6 separate regions of the Homo sapiens genome follow, and regions 2, 3, 4, 5 and 6 are each linked to region 1. The links are contacts of gene promoters, found by promoter capture Hi-C in blood cells and fetal thymus (Javierre and others, 2016). All regions are on one chromosome and are shown on one strand. The core of a region is centred on a gene start or on the middle of the fragment in contact, and the rest is flanking DNA. Distances in the headings are between cores, read along the strand shown.

What was found. Contacts are between HindIII fragments. The CHiCAGO score rates a contact against its expected background, and 5 or more counts as called.
Region 2: a contact is called between a fragment that was not itself captured here and the fragment with the promoter of PHLDB1 in region 1, in 8 of 17 cell types (naive CD4 T cells, naive CD8 T cells, total CD4 T cells and 5 more). The highest score is 8.1, in naive CD4 T cells.
Region 3: the fragment with the promoter of HYOU1 here is called in contact with the fragment with the promoter of PHLDB1 in region 1 in 1 of 17 cell types (total CD4 T cells); the score reaches 5.8 in total CD4 T cells.
Region 4: a contact is called between a fragment that was not itself captured here and the fragment with the promoter of PHLDB1 in region 1, in 1 of 17 cell types (total CD8 T cells). The highest score is 5.4, in total CD8 T cells.
Region 5: a contact is called between the fragment with the promoter of SLC37A4 here and the fragment with the promoter of PHLDB1 in region 1, in 3 of 17 cell types (non-activated CD4 T cells, naive CD8 T cells and naive CD4 T cells). The highest score is 6.8, in non-activated CD4 T cells.
Region 6: a contact is called between a fragment that was not itself captured here and the fragment with the promoter of PHLDB1 in region 1, in 1 of 17 cell types (naive CD4 T cells). The highest score is 5.1, in naive CD4 T cells.

Annotation. Positions count from the first base shown.
Region 1 is chr11:118,606,334-118,608,938 of GRCh38, reverse strand. It overlaps PHLDB1 (pleckstrin homology like domain family B member 1), which reads right to left and starts at 1,324. Exons shown (of 23, transcript NM_001144758.3): 1 at 1,240-1,324. LOC124902765 (a long non-coding RNA gene) reads left to right here and starts at 428. Exons shown (of 2, transcript XR_007062908.1): 1 at 428-816; 2 at 1,751-2,605. RefSeq lists enhancers at 1-153, 191-485 and silencers at 613-682, 743-832. The HindIII fragment of the contact is 8,144 bases long and covers 1-2,605 here.
Region 2 is chr11:118,137,930-118,140,534 of GRCh38, reverse strand. The region is part of intron 4 of SCN4B (sodium voltage-gated channel beta subunit 4); the gene reads left to right. Among named protein-coding and RNA genes, the nearest start is that of SCN4B, 14 kb to the left of the region's middle. The HindIII fragment of the contact is 851 bases long and covers 899-1,749 here.
Region 3 is chr11:119,055,928-119,058,532 of GRCh38, reverse strand. It overlaps HYOU1 (hypoxia up-regulated 1), which reads left to right and starts at 1,328. Exons shown (of 26, transcript NM_006389.5): 1 at 1,328-1,513; 2 at 2,366-2,463. The coding sequence starts at 2,373. RefSeq lists enhancers at 821-870, 1,230-1,729, 1,730-2,230 and silencers at 1,101-1,380, 1,471-1,750. The HindIII fragment of the contact is 24,437 bases long and covers 1-2,605 here.
Region 4 is chr11:118,165,389-118,167,993 of GRCh38, reverse strand. SCN2B (sodium voltage-gated channel beta subunit 2) reads left to right here. Exons shown (of 4, transcript NM_004588.5): 4 at 908-2,605. The coding sequence ends at 1,107. Among named protein-coding and RNA genes, the nearest start is that of SCN2B, 9.9 kb to the left of the region's middle. The HindIII fragment of the contact is 6,967 bases long and covers 1-2,605 here.
Region 5 is chr11:119,029,627-119,032,231 of GRCh38, reverse strand. SLC37A4 (solute carrier family 37 member 4) reads left to right here and starts at 1,355. Exons shown (of 10, transcript NM_001467.6): 1 at 1,355-1,383. RefSeq lists a silencer at 1,741-1,900. The HindIII fragment of the contact is 18,338 bases long and covers 1-2,605 here.
Region 6 is chr11:118,903,662-118,906,266 of GRCh38, reverse strand. All of the region lies in intron 5 of BCL9L (BCL9 like), which reads left to right. Among named protein-coding and RNA genes, the nearest start is that of MIR4492, 5.7 kb to the left of the region's middle. The HindIII fragment of the contact is 3,900 bases long and covers 1-2,605 here.

The DNA.
Region 1 (2,605 bases), core at 75-2,574:
GTTGTGTGTGTGACTGGGGTGCGTGTGTGAGGTAGGCTGTGTGACTGGGGTGCATGTGTGAGCTGGGGCGCGTGTAAGCGGGGCTGCGGGTGTGAGGGGCTGCGTGAGCGCGGGGCGCTTTCCTGTGAGGCGTAAGGCATGGAGTGCGTGGGAAGGCCTCGGCGTGTGGGCGGGTCCGGGTGTGTCTGGGTGGCGTGACGCAGGGACGTAGGTGTGCGAAGTGTCGCGGAGGCGTGCGTGTGTGCCGCGTGGGAGCCCGGCGTGGTGGGGCGCCTGCGTTTGCGTTTGACGGCTGGGGGGTGAGCCCGCCGCCCGATGAGTCAGCCTCGGGAGGCTCCAGGACCGCTGAGCTAACGGCCCAGAATGCAGCCCCGCCCCAGAGCCGTGGGTCCCCGGCAGGGCTGTGCGGTCGCCCGGCCAAGTCCCCACTCGAGCCTGCCTCGGCGGAAGCGCTAGCGGGCGACTCGGCCACCCTGCGCCGGCGCCCCTACCCAGCCGCCCGCCCGCACTTCCCTATCCCGGGGGAGCCCGGATGACTTGGGTCAGCCTCCGCTCGGGGAACTCCGCTAGGGATTCCAATAGGGACCGCGCGGGCGTGGCAAGGCGCCCCAGGCGGCCTCCCCGGCCCCCGAGGACGTGGGGCCTTGGGGAGTGCCTGGGAGGCCCCAGGCGGGCTTCCCATCTCCTGGACACCCCCAGGCAGCCCTCCTAGACGCTCAAGACTCTGAGCCGGACTCCGAATCCCTTCCTGGTCCATCAAGGCGGCCGGCCTGGGGACAGGCGGGGAGACGTCACAGGAGATACCCCCGCCCCAAGGTCCTGCTGTGGGCGGAGAGGGGGAGGTGTGGGGCGCTGGAGGACGAAAACCCGCGCGCGCGCTCGCCGCCCGATACCCCGCGAGTGTCCGCCCGGCCGCCTGGGTGCCGGCGGGAGAGTCTGGATAGGGCCAGGATCAGAGTTTCTCCAAGGGGGGGAGAGCGTCACGGCCCCCTCTGGCGGTGGCGTTGGCAGCGGCCGAGGAAGGCAAAAGCAAGAGGCTCACAGGAAAACTCCCCATAACGCTCCTTTCGCCCCCACGCACTCACCTGGGGTGCCCTCTCTCCCCCACGGGTTTCTGCCGAGCTCCCTAGCCTAGAGCTGATCTCAGGGCTCTCGCCAGGCCCCGGGGACTTCCCCTTATCCAGTCCTAGCACCGCAGCGAATGGGACCCGCAAGTGTAGTGGGACGGGGCGCTCTTACCTAGAGGTGGGGGGGGGGCAGGGAGACACTGGTCCCTTAGCCTGGCTCGGCTCGGTCGCGGTGGCCTCAGGCTTAGGAGGACACCGTTGCTTTTCCCCGGGAGCTCGCTAAGTAGGAGGAGAGCGAGCCTGTCCCGCCCCCCTCCCGCCAGTCCCCGCCCCCGTCCCCCGTCCCGTCCGCCTGGCCAGCCAAAGAAGACGCCCTTGTGGGGCTGGAGCCCAAGGTCCCCCCACCCACCCTTTCCCACAGCAGCACCTCCCCCAGCCTGCACAGCGCCCGCTTTGTTCATCTTTGCAGCTGGGCTCTCCACCATCACCACCACCACCACCACCACCACCACCACCACCACCACCACCACCACCACCACCACACATCCCCCTCTCCTCCCACCCTGCCCTCCCGACTCTCCTAGACCACCCTCCACTCCCAGGCTTTAACACGCTTTTGAGAGGGTGTTTTTGACAATCCGTTCTCCCTCCCCCAAACTCTCCCCTCTTTCTTTTTGCCTTAGATGCCTGAAACCTCCACGGGCTCCCACTGAACCTCCCAAATCGAAGCCCCTACAACATGCTCTCAACATCTCCAGAACATCTACTGAGGGTACCCAGGTCTTCTCCCTGTCACCTCCTCCCCTCGCCCTATTCCAAGCCCCACCATGAAGAGCTGTAAATGACATTGATAGCCACGCACATCAGGCTTCACAGACTTTCTTAAGGATAGGCACAAGAAGACTCGTTAAAGTGTCATGCAAACTCCAAAGCACAGGAAAACCGAATGGAATTATCATCTTGCCCCCATGGAGCTCCACACCCCTCCACCCCGACAGACTTGCTGGATTACAGATTGGGAGATGGAGGCAGGCTATAGACATACAATTGAGCACACCAACCTGTAGTAGGAGTGGGAGTTAATAAGGAAGAGAAGGAGGCACTAAACACCTAAAAGCAGCCCCCAAATTGAGCTAGGTTGAAGTCATTCTCCATCTCAACCTCCACTCCGAAATCCAACGCTGACAGTGGATCCTTACCTTGCAAAGCCAGCTCTTGGTCCAGGAGACTGGCTGGGGAGGCCCTAGGGAGCTGAACTCAGCTGGACTGGACTTCTTTGACCTGCACTAGAGGGACCCTGGAGACTCTTCTTCACTGAAGGAAGGAGCAGAAAGCCTGTAAGTCTGGTCTAAATTCCAGCTGGGGTGGATAGCAAAAAATAATTTATCCTCTTTGAGATGGACAAGTGCTGTTCTAATTCAATGAGTTTAGTTTGTGCCGTCTCTCCCTAACCCAGGAACAGCAGGAGGCTGAACTACAGGAATCTCTGGTCACTCATTGACAGGGCTGGCCTTAGCAGGGGACCCCCCACGGCTGGA
Region 2 (2,605 bases), core at 75-2,574, 470 kb after region 1:
GCATTTGAAAGTTGTGTTCTGAGCAAGACAGATGCGACGAGATGGCTTCCCATTGGAACAGAGAGGGTGATGGTAACCACGAGATGCAGAGAATGGAGAACTCCTCTGCCCCTATTTGCTGAAACATTCTGCTCTGCTGAGAAGAGGGAATTCTGCTGTAAAGGGCAGAACTTACTCTAGAAAGAGGGGATGGAAGTTGGAGGTAGGGAGGGGCCATACAGGTAGCAGCGCTGGGGCTGGGGAGCAGGGGAGGACCCCAGAACTGGGTTGTCGATGAAGAGCTCAAGGGTTGTCTGCCTGCCTTGTGGCCAGAGGCTGTGAGGGTTTTGGTGATCGTGAGAGGGGCTAAAAGCGTGGAGCTTAATTAGGTTCTGTTTTTCATAACCAGTCTTACTATCAATGGATGGAGAACAAATTTGTCAATATATGGTTTAAAAGCACTTAGAAAAGACAACGGTGGTCCTTCAGAGCCACAGTGGGTTCATCAAAAACAAGACATGCTAAGCTGGATGTGTGTGCCTGAAGTCCCAGCTCCCTGGGGGGCTGAGGCAGGAGGATGCTTTGAGCCCAGGAGTTTGAGTCCAGCCTGGGCAACTTAGCAAGAGCTCGTCTCTTAAAAAAAAAAAGAAAAAAGAAAAAAAAAAAAGGAATGCTAGATGTCTCCTGATAAGGCACTGGCAGAACAGGAGATTGCTCTGGAAAATACCACTTCCTGTCATTCATCAAATGCCTACCATATGTTAGGAATTCCACCAGGCAATTTTATACACTACCCATAATTATTATTTTACAATTGAGCAAAGTGAGGCTCAGAGTAGTGAAGTGACTTGCCCAAGGCCACACAGCTAGTAAGTGATAGAGCTGGGATTTGAACTGTGACTAATTTGGCTTCAAAGCTTAAACCATTGCCAGGATGTTCTACTGACTCACTGGGCATATCTAGAGTTCATTCATTTATCTGTTCATTTTGTGGCTGTTTTTGAGGCACTGTGCCAGATGCTATAGGAAATTATGGAAGGAATGAGATTCTGCCTTTAACTAAAGAAGACAAGATACAAATAAATGTGTATACAAATAAATGTAATACAAGGTAGAGGGGATCAGTGCCAGCAAAGAGGTTTGATACGATGCTGCTGTGGGGGTTCAGGGCAGGGTGAAATTCTGGGAAGGATTTCTGGCTGAATGGGTGTTTGTGGCAGGCCTTGCAAGATTAATATAACTTAAGCCCTGGGGAGAGTAAAGGGAAGATTCTTCCAGATGGAGGCACCACTGAGAGCCAAGGCAGAGAGTCTGGGAAGTGGGCTTGTCTGGAGAACAAGCCTTTTGTTTGTTGAGAGAGCTGTATGGTGAGGTGGTGGGGAGGAGAATAAAAGCCTGCAGAAGGGGTTGGGGACAGACACTTGGGGACCTGGGAGTCGAGGCTGTGATTGACTTCCGACGGCAGGGGAGCTGGCGAGGGCTTGCAGGGCCCTGGCACGATCAGAGAGCACAGAAGAAAGGATCTGGCCATGGTGGGCGGAGGGATTGGGTGGAAGAGCCTGGGGGCAGGGGACAGACCGTAGGGAAGCCTGAGGGAGGTCCTTGGAGTGGCGGGGAATGCCTGCATTACAGCAGAGACAGTGGCTTCTCAAGAACAGGGAGGTACTGGACAACATCTCACCATTGATTCTGAAACGTGGGTGCTGTTTCCTCTGTCTGGAATTTACCCTCTCTCTTTTCCTGCTCATCTTTCTTGGTTTCAAAGAAGCTTGGAAGTTTAAGGTATACTTCCAAAAAGCTTCCCTGACTCCTATGAGGAGGCTTCCTAGGTTGGGTCCCTCCTTCCTACATCCCCCATCCTGTTATTTACCACAGTGTGTCACAATCACTTGTTTAATGTCACATGCCCTAGGAGAGTGCACGTTTCCGACACAGTGCCTGGTACCCAGTAGGTTCTCAGTAGAGAATTATGGACTGCGTGGAATACAGTTCGGTGGGTCGTAATTGGCTGGGTTAACTATGCCTTAGGTACAGAGACAGAAAGAAAGAAAGAGAGAGAGACAGAGAGAGAGAGATGGATCCATCCGAATAGAGGTCTTTAGTGTATTCCACAGGGCTCCACCTGTTCATTGTTATTACTAACATTTGAAGTACACTAGGGATGTCACATTTATCAACTTCCAGAAGCCTAGTAACTATGTTGGAAGAAAAAGGGATCTAGGAAGATCTTGATAGGCTGGAGCTAGGAACTAGGTATTGCAAGATGAAATTAATGAGGACAAAATATTCAGTCCTTCCCAAAGGCCTCAAACCCAGCTGCCCAAGCCCAGGGTGAGGGTAGGATGTAGTTTGGCTGTAGCAGCTGTGAAAAACTTGGCCATTTTCATGAGCAGAAAGCTCAGAGGGATGCAGGTGCTCCCTGGGGAGTTCTGTGTGCCCAGCCTGGGCGCTGCTGTGGAGGAGGGACACACTGAAGTTGGAGCATGTCCAGCTCAGAGCGGTCAGGGTGGAACGCCTCCCGGGAGGTGTCTTCCCATCTCACCATCTCTCCTTCCTCCTGTCTTCTGCTCCGTCCCACCAAACTCTGCCTAGACCTGTCACCCTTGAAGCCAAACCCACTGCCTGC
Region 3 (2,605 bases), core at 79-2,578, 450 kb before region 1:
AAAAATGTAGAGAAAGGAAGAGCTAAGAGCTCCTTAAACAAGTTCAGGCTTGACACAACCCTGGCCCTGACAGCCAGGGTCTTCAAGCGGGCCTTTCTGTGAAGGGTGGCCAGGCATCAACTTAGTAGGAGAGAAAACAGATGACTTATTTCCATCCACACTTAAGGAAAATGCAGTCTCCAAGGACTGCGTACATTTCTTTTTCGAGAAGGAGTCTCGCTGTTGTCGCCCAGGCTGGAGTGCAGTGGCGCAGTCTGGGCTCACAGCAACCTCTGCCTCCCGGATTCAAGCAATTCTCCTGCCTCAGCCTCGTGAGTAGCTGGGATTACAGGCACCCGCCACCACGCCTGGCTAATTTTTGTAGTTTTGGTAGAGACGGGGTTTCACCATGTTGGCCAGGCTGGTCTCGAACTCCTGACCTCCAGTGATTCGCCCGCCTTGGCCTCCCAAAATGCTGGGATTACAGGCGTGAGCCACCGCGCCCGGGCGACTGCGCACATTTCTATGGAGCTGTAAGTTAAAAGAGAAGGCAGTGAGGTGCTTCTGTCATTCTATGACAGAAACAGCTAAAGAGTAGAGAAATGTTCACAAGATTTAATAGAACAGAAATAGGAGAAGGTGCACACAAGCTCAACCAACTATAGCCTCACAAATAAAAGTGTCTTTTGTGTGTAGTACTTAAGTTTGGAATATTCTTTCTTATACAAATGAGTGGGGCTTAACCTAAGAAATCCTGGCCAGATTCTGCGACGAATGCATCGGTTATCTCTGACCCATCAGCAAACATCTTTTTCTGTGGCTTCAGTTTCCTCAGTAAAACAGAGGGGGTTGCGACGGACTCAGTCCGAGGGACAGCCATTCTCCAACGTCTATCCAAAGCCTAGGGCACCTCAATACTAACCGGCAGGCCAGCGCCCCCTCCGCGGGGCTGCGGACAGGACGCCTGTTATTCCATTCCTCGGCCGGGCTCTACAGGTGACCGGAAGAAGAGCCCCGAGTGCGGGACTGCAGTGCGCCCGACCTGCTCTAGGCGCAGGTCACTCCCGAACCCCGGCAGCAAAGCATCCAGCGCCGGAAAAGGTCCCGCGGTCGCCCCGGGGCCGGCGCTGGGGAGGAAGGAGTGGAGCGCGCTGGCCCCGTGACGTGGTCCAATCCCAGGCCGACGCCGGCTGCTTCTGCCCAACCGGTGGCTGGTCCCCTCCGCCGCCCCATTACAAGGCTGGCAAAGGGAGGGGGCGGGGCCTGGGACGTGGTCCAATGAGTACGCGCGCCGGGGCGGCGGGGGCGGGGCCGGGCGCGCAGCGCAGGGCCGGGCGGCCGAGGCTCCAATGAGCGCGCGCCGCGTCCGGGGCCGGCTGGTGCGCGAGACGCCGCCGAGAGGTTGGTGGCTAATGTAACAGTTTGCAAACCGAGAGGAGTTGTGAAGGGCGCGGGTGGGGGGCGCTGCCGGCCTCGTGGGTACGTTCGTGCCGCGTCTGTCCCAGAGCTGGGGCCGCAGGAGCGGAGGCAAGAGGTAGCGGGGGTGGATGGAGGTGCGGGCCGGCCACCCCTCCTAGGGGAGACAGCGTGCGAGCTCCGGGGGCGGGTCGGGAGCGCAAGGGAGGGCCGCGCGGACGCCGGGCGCTCGGCCTCGCACCGGGGGGCACGCAGCTCGGCCCCCGGTCTGTCCCCACTTGCTGGGGCGGGCCGGGATCCGTTTCCGGGAGTGGGAGCCGCCGCCTTCGTCAGGTGGGGTTTAGGTGAACACCGGGTAACGGCTACCCGCCGGGCGGGGAACCTTACCGCCCCTGGCACTGCGTCTGTGGGCACAGCGGGGCCGGGGAGTGAGCTGGGAAAGGGGAGGGGGCGGGACAACCCGCAGGGATGCCGAGGAGGAGATAGGCCTTTCCTTCATCCTAGCTACCCCCAACGTCATTACCTTTCTCTTCCCGTCCAGGCCCAGCTGGCTTTCCCCGTCAGCGGGGGAGCTCCAGGTGTGGGGAGGTGGTTGAGCCCTGGGCGGGGATCCCTGGCCGCACCCCAGGTGTCTGACAACAGGCACAGTGCTGCGGTGCGCCACTCACTGCCTGTGTGGTGGACAAAAGGCTCGGGTCTCCTTTCTCTTGTCCTGTTAGCTTCTCTGTTTAGGGATGTGGCAAAGCCGAGGACCCATGCTCTTTCACTTGGGCCTTTGTGTGGGCGCTGCTGGGATGATTAGAGAATGGTTTGTACCCATCAGGAGGGAGAAGGGGAGAAGTAGGCTGATCTGCCCTGGGTAAGAATGAAGTAGATATGAATCTTACAGCCTCTCCGTTCTGGGATGTGATTCTGTCTCCTTCACTCCGGGTATCCAGTTTTAAGTGTTTTCTTTCTTCGCCTCCCCCAGGGGCACTATGGCAGACAAAGTTAGGAGGCAGAGGCCGAGGAGGCGAGTCTGTTGGGCCTTGGTGGCTGTGCTCTTGGCAGACCTGTTGGCACTGAGTGGTATGTACCCCAGTAGAGGGAGCAAATGGATAAATGATGACTGAAGGATGCATGATGGGAATTGAGCTTGGGGCTGTTGGCCAGAAGTCTCTTGAGTTGTTAGGTCCAGGCCTTTTTGTCTTTTGCCATCTTCGTTTACCCA
Region 4 (2,605 bases), core at 59-2,558, 440 kb after region 1:
CCCTCCTGAGGATGGGAGCAACCATTTGTGCTGCATAGAAGGAATCCATTTTCTTCCCTCTAGTCCTCAAGAACCTGGGAACATGTCCCAGAGAGTCCTGGTAATGATACAGAATATAATCCCAGTCTTAATAATGGGGCTTGGTGTGATGGCTCACACCTGTAATCACAGCGCTTTGGGAGGCTGAGGCAGGCAGATAGCTTGAGCTCAGGAGCTCGAGACCAGCCTGGGCAACATGGCAAAACTCCATCTCTACAGAAAATGCAAAAATTAGCTGGGCATGGTGGCTTGCACCTATACTCCCAGCTACTTGGGAGGCTGAGGTGAGAGGATCATCTGAGCCCAGCAGGTAGAGGCTGCAGTGAATCATGATTGTGCCACTGCACTCCAGCTTGGGCAACAGAGCAAGACCCTGTTTCAAATGACAACAACAGCAATAATAATGATGGTGATGATGGCAGCTTTCATTTATTGGGCACCTCTATGTCTCAGTCATAGGGCTAAGCTCTGTTTATGCATTATCTCATCCTCATGAAAACCTTTGAGGGAGGTACTATTATTAAGCCCATTTTACATGTTAGAAAACTGAGGTTAGAGAGGATAAGTTACTTAAGGTCACGCAATTCGTAAGTTGTACAATTAGGACTCAAATTTGGGTCTGTTTGATCTTAAAGTTCATGCTCTTAAATACTTCATCACACTAGCTCCTCTGGGGGCTTTGGGTGTCCTGGGATTTGGAGGTGGCGGCGCTTCAGGGTCAGTCACTGGATTGCTTTTCGGCTTTGCTAAAGTCCTGTCTGTGGAGGAGAGTAAAGTCAGGATGGTTCCACGCATGCCACGGGTAGTGGGGTGATGGGGGAGGCCCCTTTCCCAGCCCTGGTGCTCAGTGGCTCTGCTTCCTTTCCAGAGCCCCCTGAGCGGGACTCCACGGTGGCCGTGATTGTGGGTGCCTCCGTCGGGGGCTTCCTGGCTGTGGTCATCTTGGTGCTGATGGTGGTCAAGTGTGTGAGGAGAAAAAAAGAGCAGAAGCTGAGCACAGATGACCTGAAGACCGAGGAGGAGGGCAAGACGGACGGTGAAGGCAACCCGGATGATGGCGCCAAGTAGTGGGTGGCCGGCCCTGCAGCCTCCCGTGTCCCGTCTCCTCCCCTCTCCGCCCTGTACAGTGACCCTGCCTGCTCGCTCTTGGTGTGCTTCCCGTGACCTAGGACCCCAGGGCCCACCTGGGGCCTCCTGAACCCCCGACTTCGTATCTCCCACCCTGCACCAAGAGTGACCCACTCTCTTCCATCCGAGAAACCTGCCATGCTCTGGGACGTGTGGGCCCTGGGGAGAGGAGAGAAAGGGCTCCCACCTGCCAGTCCCTGGGGGGAGGCAGGAGGCACATGTGAGGGTCCCCAGAGAGAAGGGAGTGGGTGGGCAGGGGTAGAGGAGGGGGCCGCTGTCCACCTGCCCAGTGCTTGGCCTGGCAGTGGCTTCAGAGAGGACCTGGTGGGGAGGGAGGGCTTTCCTGTGCTGACAGCGCTCCCTCAGGAGGGCCTTGGCCTGGCACGGCTGTGCTCCTCCCCTGCTCCCAGCCCAGAGCAGCCATCAGGCTGGAGGTGACGATGAGTTCCTGAAACTTGGAGGGGCATGTTAAAGGGATGACTGTGCATTCCAGGGCACTGACGGAAAGCCAGGGCTGCAGGCAAAGCTGGACATGTGCCCTGGCCCAGGAGGCCATGTTGGGCCCTCGTTTCCATTGCTAGTGGCCTCCTTGGGGCTCCCGTTGGCTCCTAATCCCTTAGGACTGTGGATGAGGCCAGACTGGAAGAGCAGCTCCAGGTAGGGGGCCATGTTTCCCAGCGGGGACCCACCAACAGAGGCCAGTTTCAAAGTCAGCTGAGGGGCTGAGGGGTGGGGCTCCATGGTGAATGCAGGTTGCTGCAGGCTCTGCCTTCTCCATGGGGTAACCACCCTCGCCTGGGCAGGGGCAGCCAAGGCTGGGAAATGAGGAGGCCATGCACAGGGTGGGGCAGCTTTCTTTGGGGCTTCAGTGAGAACTCTCCCAGTTGCCCTTGGTGGGGTTTCCACCTGGCTTTTGGCTACAGAGAGGGAAGGGAAAGCCTGAGGCCGGCATAAGGGGAGGCCTTGGAACCTGAGCTGCCAATGCCAGCCCTGTCCCATCTGCAGCCACACTACTCGCTCCTCTCCCAACAACTCCCTTCGTGGGGACAAAAGTGACAATTGTAGGCCAGGCACAGTGGCTCACGCCTGTAATCCCAGCACTTTGGGAGGCCAAGGCGGGTGGATTACCTCCATCTGTTTAGTAGAAATGGGCAAAACCCCATCTCTACTAAAAATACAAGAATTAGCTGGGCGTGGTGGCGTGTGCCTGTAATCCCAGCTATTTGGGAGGCTGAGGCAGGAGAATCGCTTGAGCCCGGGAAGCAGAGGTTGCAGTGAACTGAGATAGTGATAGTGCCACTGCAATTCAGCCTGGGTGACATAGAGAGACTCCATCTCAAAAAAAAAAAAAAAAAAAAAAAAAGGCAATTGTGCGGAGCCAACCATCACTGCCATTACACTCACATTCAATGGAAATTGATTAGGCCTGAGAGAAGGA
Region 5 (2,605 bases), core at 106-2,605, 420 kb before region 1:
CCTCCCAATGTGCTGGGATTACAAGCATGAGCCATCGCGTCCGGCCTGTCATCCTATTTTATCTCATCTCCTCCTCCTCCCTTCCCTGACCATCTTCTCTGGAGTAAAAGATCTTTGCTCTCAATTTTGGAACACTTACAATTCCTTCAGCCACTCTTGTTAGGAAGATATAAGGGAAGAGAGCGAGAGACAGGAGGCAACTCAACGGCCAAACAGGTTTATTCACAGGAATAAGCCTGCAAGGAGTTCCAGTCAGGAGTCTGGCTGAGACCCTGATCGCTTACAAGCTGAGGCTTTTATAATATCGTTTCTATTGGGGAGAGGTCGGGAAGTGCTGGCTGATTGGGACTGTTGGGGACTTTGTTAGGCTATGTTACCTTCTGTTGAAGCTATGGGCAGGGTTAACATTTGCTCTGTTTCTGAGAACACAGTCATCATTGTTGTAAAATAGCATCACTACTGTTACTCCTCACAACTCTTAACTGGGATCAGTGAAAACCATTGTTGTTGAGAACTCTTATAGAATTTCTGAGCTCTTATCTAAATCATCTGTTGAGTCTTCACAATGATCTACCAGGCTGGTAGGAAACGGGAGCTCATAGAGATTAACCAAGGTCATACAGTTAGAATGCTGTGGGTCTAGGACTAGAATTTGATATTTACTCCAGGCCCCGTCTCTGTCCCCAACAATCTAACCACAAGTTAAAATTCCAAATTGTGGGCTGGGCGCGGTGGCTCACGCCTGTAATCCCAGCACTTTGGGAGGCCGAGGTGAGCGGATCACGAGGTCAGGAGATCGAGACCATCCTGGCAAACACGGTGAAACCCCGTCTCTACTAAAAATACAAAAAATTACCCGGGCGTGGTGGTGGGCGCCCGTAGTCCCAGCTACTCGGGAGGCTGAGGCAGGAGAATGGTGTGAACCCGGGAGGAGGAGCTTGCAGTGAGCCGAAATCGCGCCACTGCACTCCAGCCTGGGCGACTGAGCGAGACTGTTTCAAAAAAAAAAAAAAAGAAAAAAAGAAAATACTGTGTGTTCCTACAACACCTTTCCCAGACTGTGAGCAACTTGGGAACAATGATTATCACCTTAGTGTTCGGTGTGTTTTGTAGAGGAGGGCACTCACTAAAAACTGGTTTGTTGAATGCAACCACTTAAGAATTGGACATGCCGTGCCCAGCCCCTAAGGGGCGCTATGCTCGTTCGTCCAAGGAGCAGCGTGACCAGCGGGAGGGAGTAAGTCGACGTCCCCGGCATGTGGGGCGGGGAACTCCACTGGCCGGCAAGCGAAGCAGCAGGCGAAGACCACGCCCCCGCCGGCCGCGCTTGCGCAGCCTTCGCTAGCCCCGCCCCGTCCTATTCGGGCTCCCGCCTCTGTTCAGGTAGGAGGCGGTATGCGGGGGAGGGGAGTCACCTGAGGGCGGGGATCTCAGGTCTTGGGGAGCCATTGTTGGCGAACCCCAACTTCCGATACGACCCGGAGCTGTTCCTGCAGTTCCAGAGACAATTCATGGGTCTTGGGGCCACCGAGGCGCTGTCCCTGACCACCAGCACGAGACCCCTTTCTATCGCGCCAGTCCTGTGGTCTCCGCACCTCTCCAGCTCCTGCACCCCCGGCCCCCGTGGTTCCCAGCCGCACAGTAGCGTGTCCTGGGTAGCGTGAGGACCCACGGGGCTGGGCAGGTGCCACGAGCCCGCCGCCTCTTCGCCGCCCGCCGCCTCTCCTCCTCTCCCGCCCGCCGCCTGGCCCTCCCCTACCAGGCTGAGCCTCTGGGTGCCAGAAGCGCGGGGCCTCCGGGAGAATACGTGCGGTCGCCCGCTCCGCGTGCGCCTACGCCTTCTGCTCCAGTTGCTTTCCCAATTGAGCGGAAAAGCCGGGGCATGTTGCCGGGGCCCTGGGCGGGACGGTTGTGCCCTGCAGCCCGAAGCCCGCCGGGGCACCTTCCCGCCCACGAGCTGCCCAGTCCCTCTGCTTGCGGCCCCTGCCAACGTCCCACAGGTTGGAAACCAGACCCTGCAGCCCCCAGCTAGCCCGAAGGAAGCCCAGACTGACGTCGCAGGGTAATGGGGACCCAGAGGTAGCTCTGTGGGGCCCCATCAGGACCTCAGCCCTTAGCGGGGCTTTCTGTGTGACACCGTGGGACCTGAACTGGGGAGGTCCCCCTTGCACAGAATTACAAGGGGCAACTGTAGGAAACAATTAAATCTATTATGTGCTAAGTATTGAGAGTTCCACGGATTGAGGCCCTCTCTAGAAGGCTTAGAAGTGGGGTAGCCGGGGTATGTGTCTGACTTTGTGTTTTGGTGCGGTGGTGGTGAGTGGGTGTAGAAACTAATAGTGCCAAGTGCAGTGCCTGTCAACTAGTAAGTTAATAAACCTTCCGTGAATGAATGAGAAGGTTCTGTGACTGAGGGAGCAGGGCTAGAGAGGGCATCTCTGCTCATCCCACCCCTGCCTCCCCTGGGCTCAGGCAGACAAAAGTAATTAGGTTGAACCTTTAATCAAAGCTGGTTTCACAGGCAAGCAGACATGATAGAGGAGGTAAAGGCAGAAATCCTGGGGACACAGGGTGCTGGCCTGGCTCACAGGCATGCCTCCTTCCG
Region 6 (2,605 bases), core at 71-2,570, 300 kb before region 1:
CCTCCAGTTCACTTATGTCACATCAGACTGCACCATTGTAGAAACTTTGTGAGTTTTATTTATTTATTGTTTAGAGACAGGGTCTCTCTCTGACACCCAGGCTGGAGTGCAGTGGTGTGATCACAGCTCACTGCAACCTCAAACTCCTGAGCTCAAGTGATCCTCCCATCTCAGACTCCCAAGTAGCTGGGGCTCAGGCATGTATCACACCTGGCTAATTTTTGTAGAGACAGTCTTGCCATGTTGCCCAGGCTGATCTTGAACTCCTGGTCTCAAGCGATCCTCATGCCTTGGCCTCCCAAAGTGCTGGAATTACAGGAGTGAGCCACTGTGCCTGGCAAACATAGGGAAATACAAAGTAGAAATTGCTAACATCCCATACTCAAGGCGACTATTTTAGTCGTACTACCCTTAGATTCTTTTATTTATTTATTTATTTATTTATTTTTGAATCGGAGTTTCACTCTTGTTGCCCAGGCTGGAGTGCAATGGCACGAACTCGGCTTACTGCAACCTCTGCCTCCTGAGTTCAAGCGATTTTCCTGCCTCAGCCTCCCGAGTAGCTGGGATTACAGGCACCTGCCACCACGCCTGGCTAATTTTTGTATTTTTAGCAGAGGTGGAGTTTTAGCATGTTGGCCAGACCGGTCCTGAACTCCTGACCTCAGGTGATACACCTGCCTCAGCCCCCCAAAGTGCTGGGATTACAGGCGTGAGCCACCCGGCCTGATTCTTTTTTTTTTTTTTTTTTTTTGAGACAGAGTCTCACTCACTCTGTTGCCCAGGCTGGAGTGCAGTGGCACAATCTCGGCTCACTGCAACCTCCACCTCCTGGGTTCAAGTAATTCTCCTGCTTCAGCCTCCCAAGTAGCTGGGATTACAGGCATGCGTCACCACGCCTGGCTAATTTTTGTATTTTTAGTAGAGATGGAGTTTCACCATTATGGCCAGGCTGGTCTTGAACTCCTGCCCTCAAGTGATCCGCCCGCCTCGGCCTCCCAAAGTGTTAGGATTACAGGCATAAGCCACCGTGCCCGGCCTGCCCTTAGATTCTTGAAGAGTTCTTACTGGAGGGGCGATAGAACGTAGACATTGACAGGACTAGTTCTGCCATCAGGCTGCCTTCGTTTGCAACCCAGGTTATTTCTGTAAATTTGGGAAAGGGCCTCAGTTTCCTCATCTGTAAAAGTATTATTTATCTCATAGGGTTGGTATGAGGAGTAAATGAGGTTATACATGTAACATGTTAGCTTTTATCATTGTTATTGTACTAGAAAGTTCCTTGTTGGACTAAGCCCTGCCTGTCTCCCCATAGCTCGTATCCAAGAGCTACTCAGCAGCCTTCACACATTGAGGTCAGCTCTCAAGCTCCCCCGCAAATTTCTGGCTCTGCTCTTCTATGTAAAATTGGATAGATAGGGTCCAGAGCAGGGCCGTTTTGGGGTGGGTCCATCAGAGAAGAAGGTGCAGAAGAAACTTTTTCCAAAGAGGGCAGCCTGACACTGGGCCCATGGGAAGGTGGTCACTGCCCTGGCTGGATGGAGACAACTTCAGGCAATCTGTCTCCCATTAACTGAGAATGCTGGTACTTACTGTCTGCGGGCCAGGAACTGTGACTTGCTTTTCTTGGCATGCGAATGGGTCTACCCACTCACCTAGACCCGTTGTAGATTTTTTTCTACGCTAAGACTTACAGTCAAGTGTCTAACCATGGAACAAAACTTCCCTTGGTGCTGAGGGCAGCTGGTCTGTCTTGAGAGTGTTTCCAGTATGTCAGCTTTTTCTAACTGTTTTTTCTTTCTTATTTTTATTTATTTATTTATTTTTTTGAGACAGTCTCGCTCTGTCGCCCTGGCTAGAGTGCAATGGTGTGATCTCGGCTCACTGCAACTTCCACCTCCTAAGTTCAAGCAATTCTCATGTCTCAGCCTCCTGAGTAGCGGGATTACAGCCATGCGCCACCATGCCCAGTTAATTTTTGTATTTTTAGTAGAGACGGGGTTTCACCATGTTGGCCAGGCTGGTCTTGAACTCATGACCTCAGGTGATCCGCCCGCCTCTACCGCCCAAACTGCTGGGATTACAGGCGTGAGACACCGCTCCCGGCTCTCTGTTTTTCAAATGGATTTTTTTAGTCTGTGACATTGATTTAAACTTACTGTTAAAAAATATATTTCTTTGGCCTGCCCCCTGTGCAAGGAGGAGGTTAGTATTTTACATTTTATAGATGAAGAAACCGAGGCTTAGAGGGATGTCTGGTTCATAAAATCACAAAGTCAGTTAGTGGTGGGGCTAGAGTGAAAAACCATCCATCATTTGGATCATCAGCTTGTGTACCCTCTCTGCCTTCTCCCTAACTGGGTCACTAGACTGTGTGCACATACACTTACCCAGTGAGAGGGGCAGCAGCTCAGAGCGGAGCTTCAGAGTCCCGGCCCTGGGTTCAGTTCTGGCTCTGCACTAACTGGCTGTGTAACTGTGGGTGAGGAACTTATTTCCTCCTTTGTTAAGTGGAGTGTGTGACACGTTCCTCCCAGGGTGTGTTGATGAGATGAAATCACACCTGTTAAGTCCCCAGCAGAATGCCAGGCCCATGGGAGCCTGT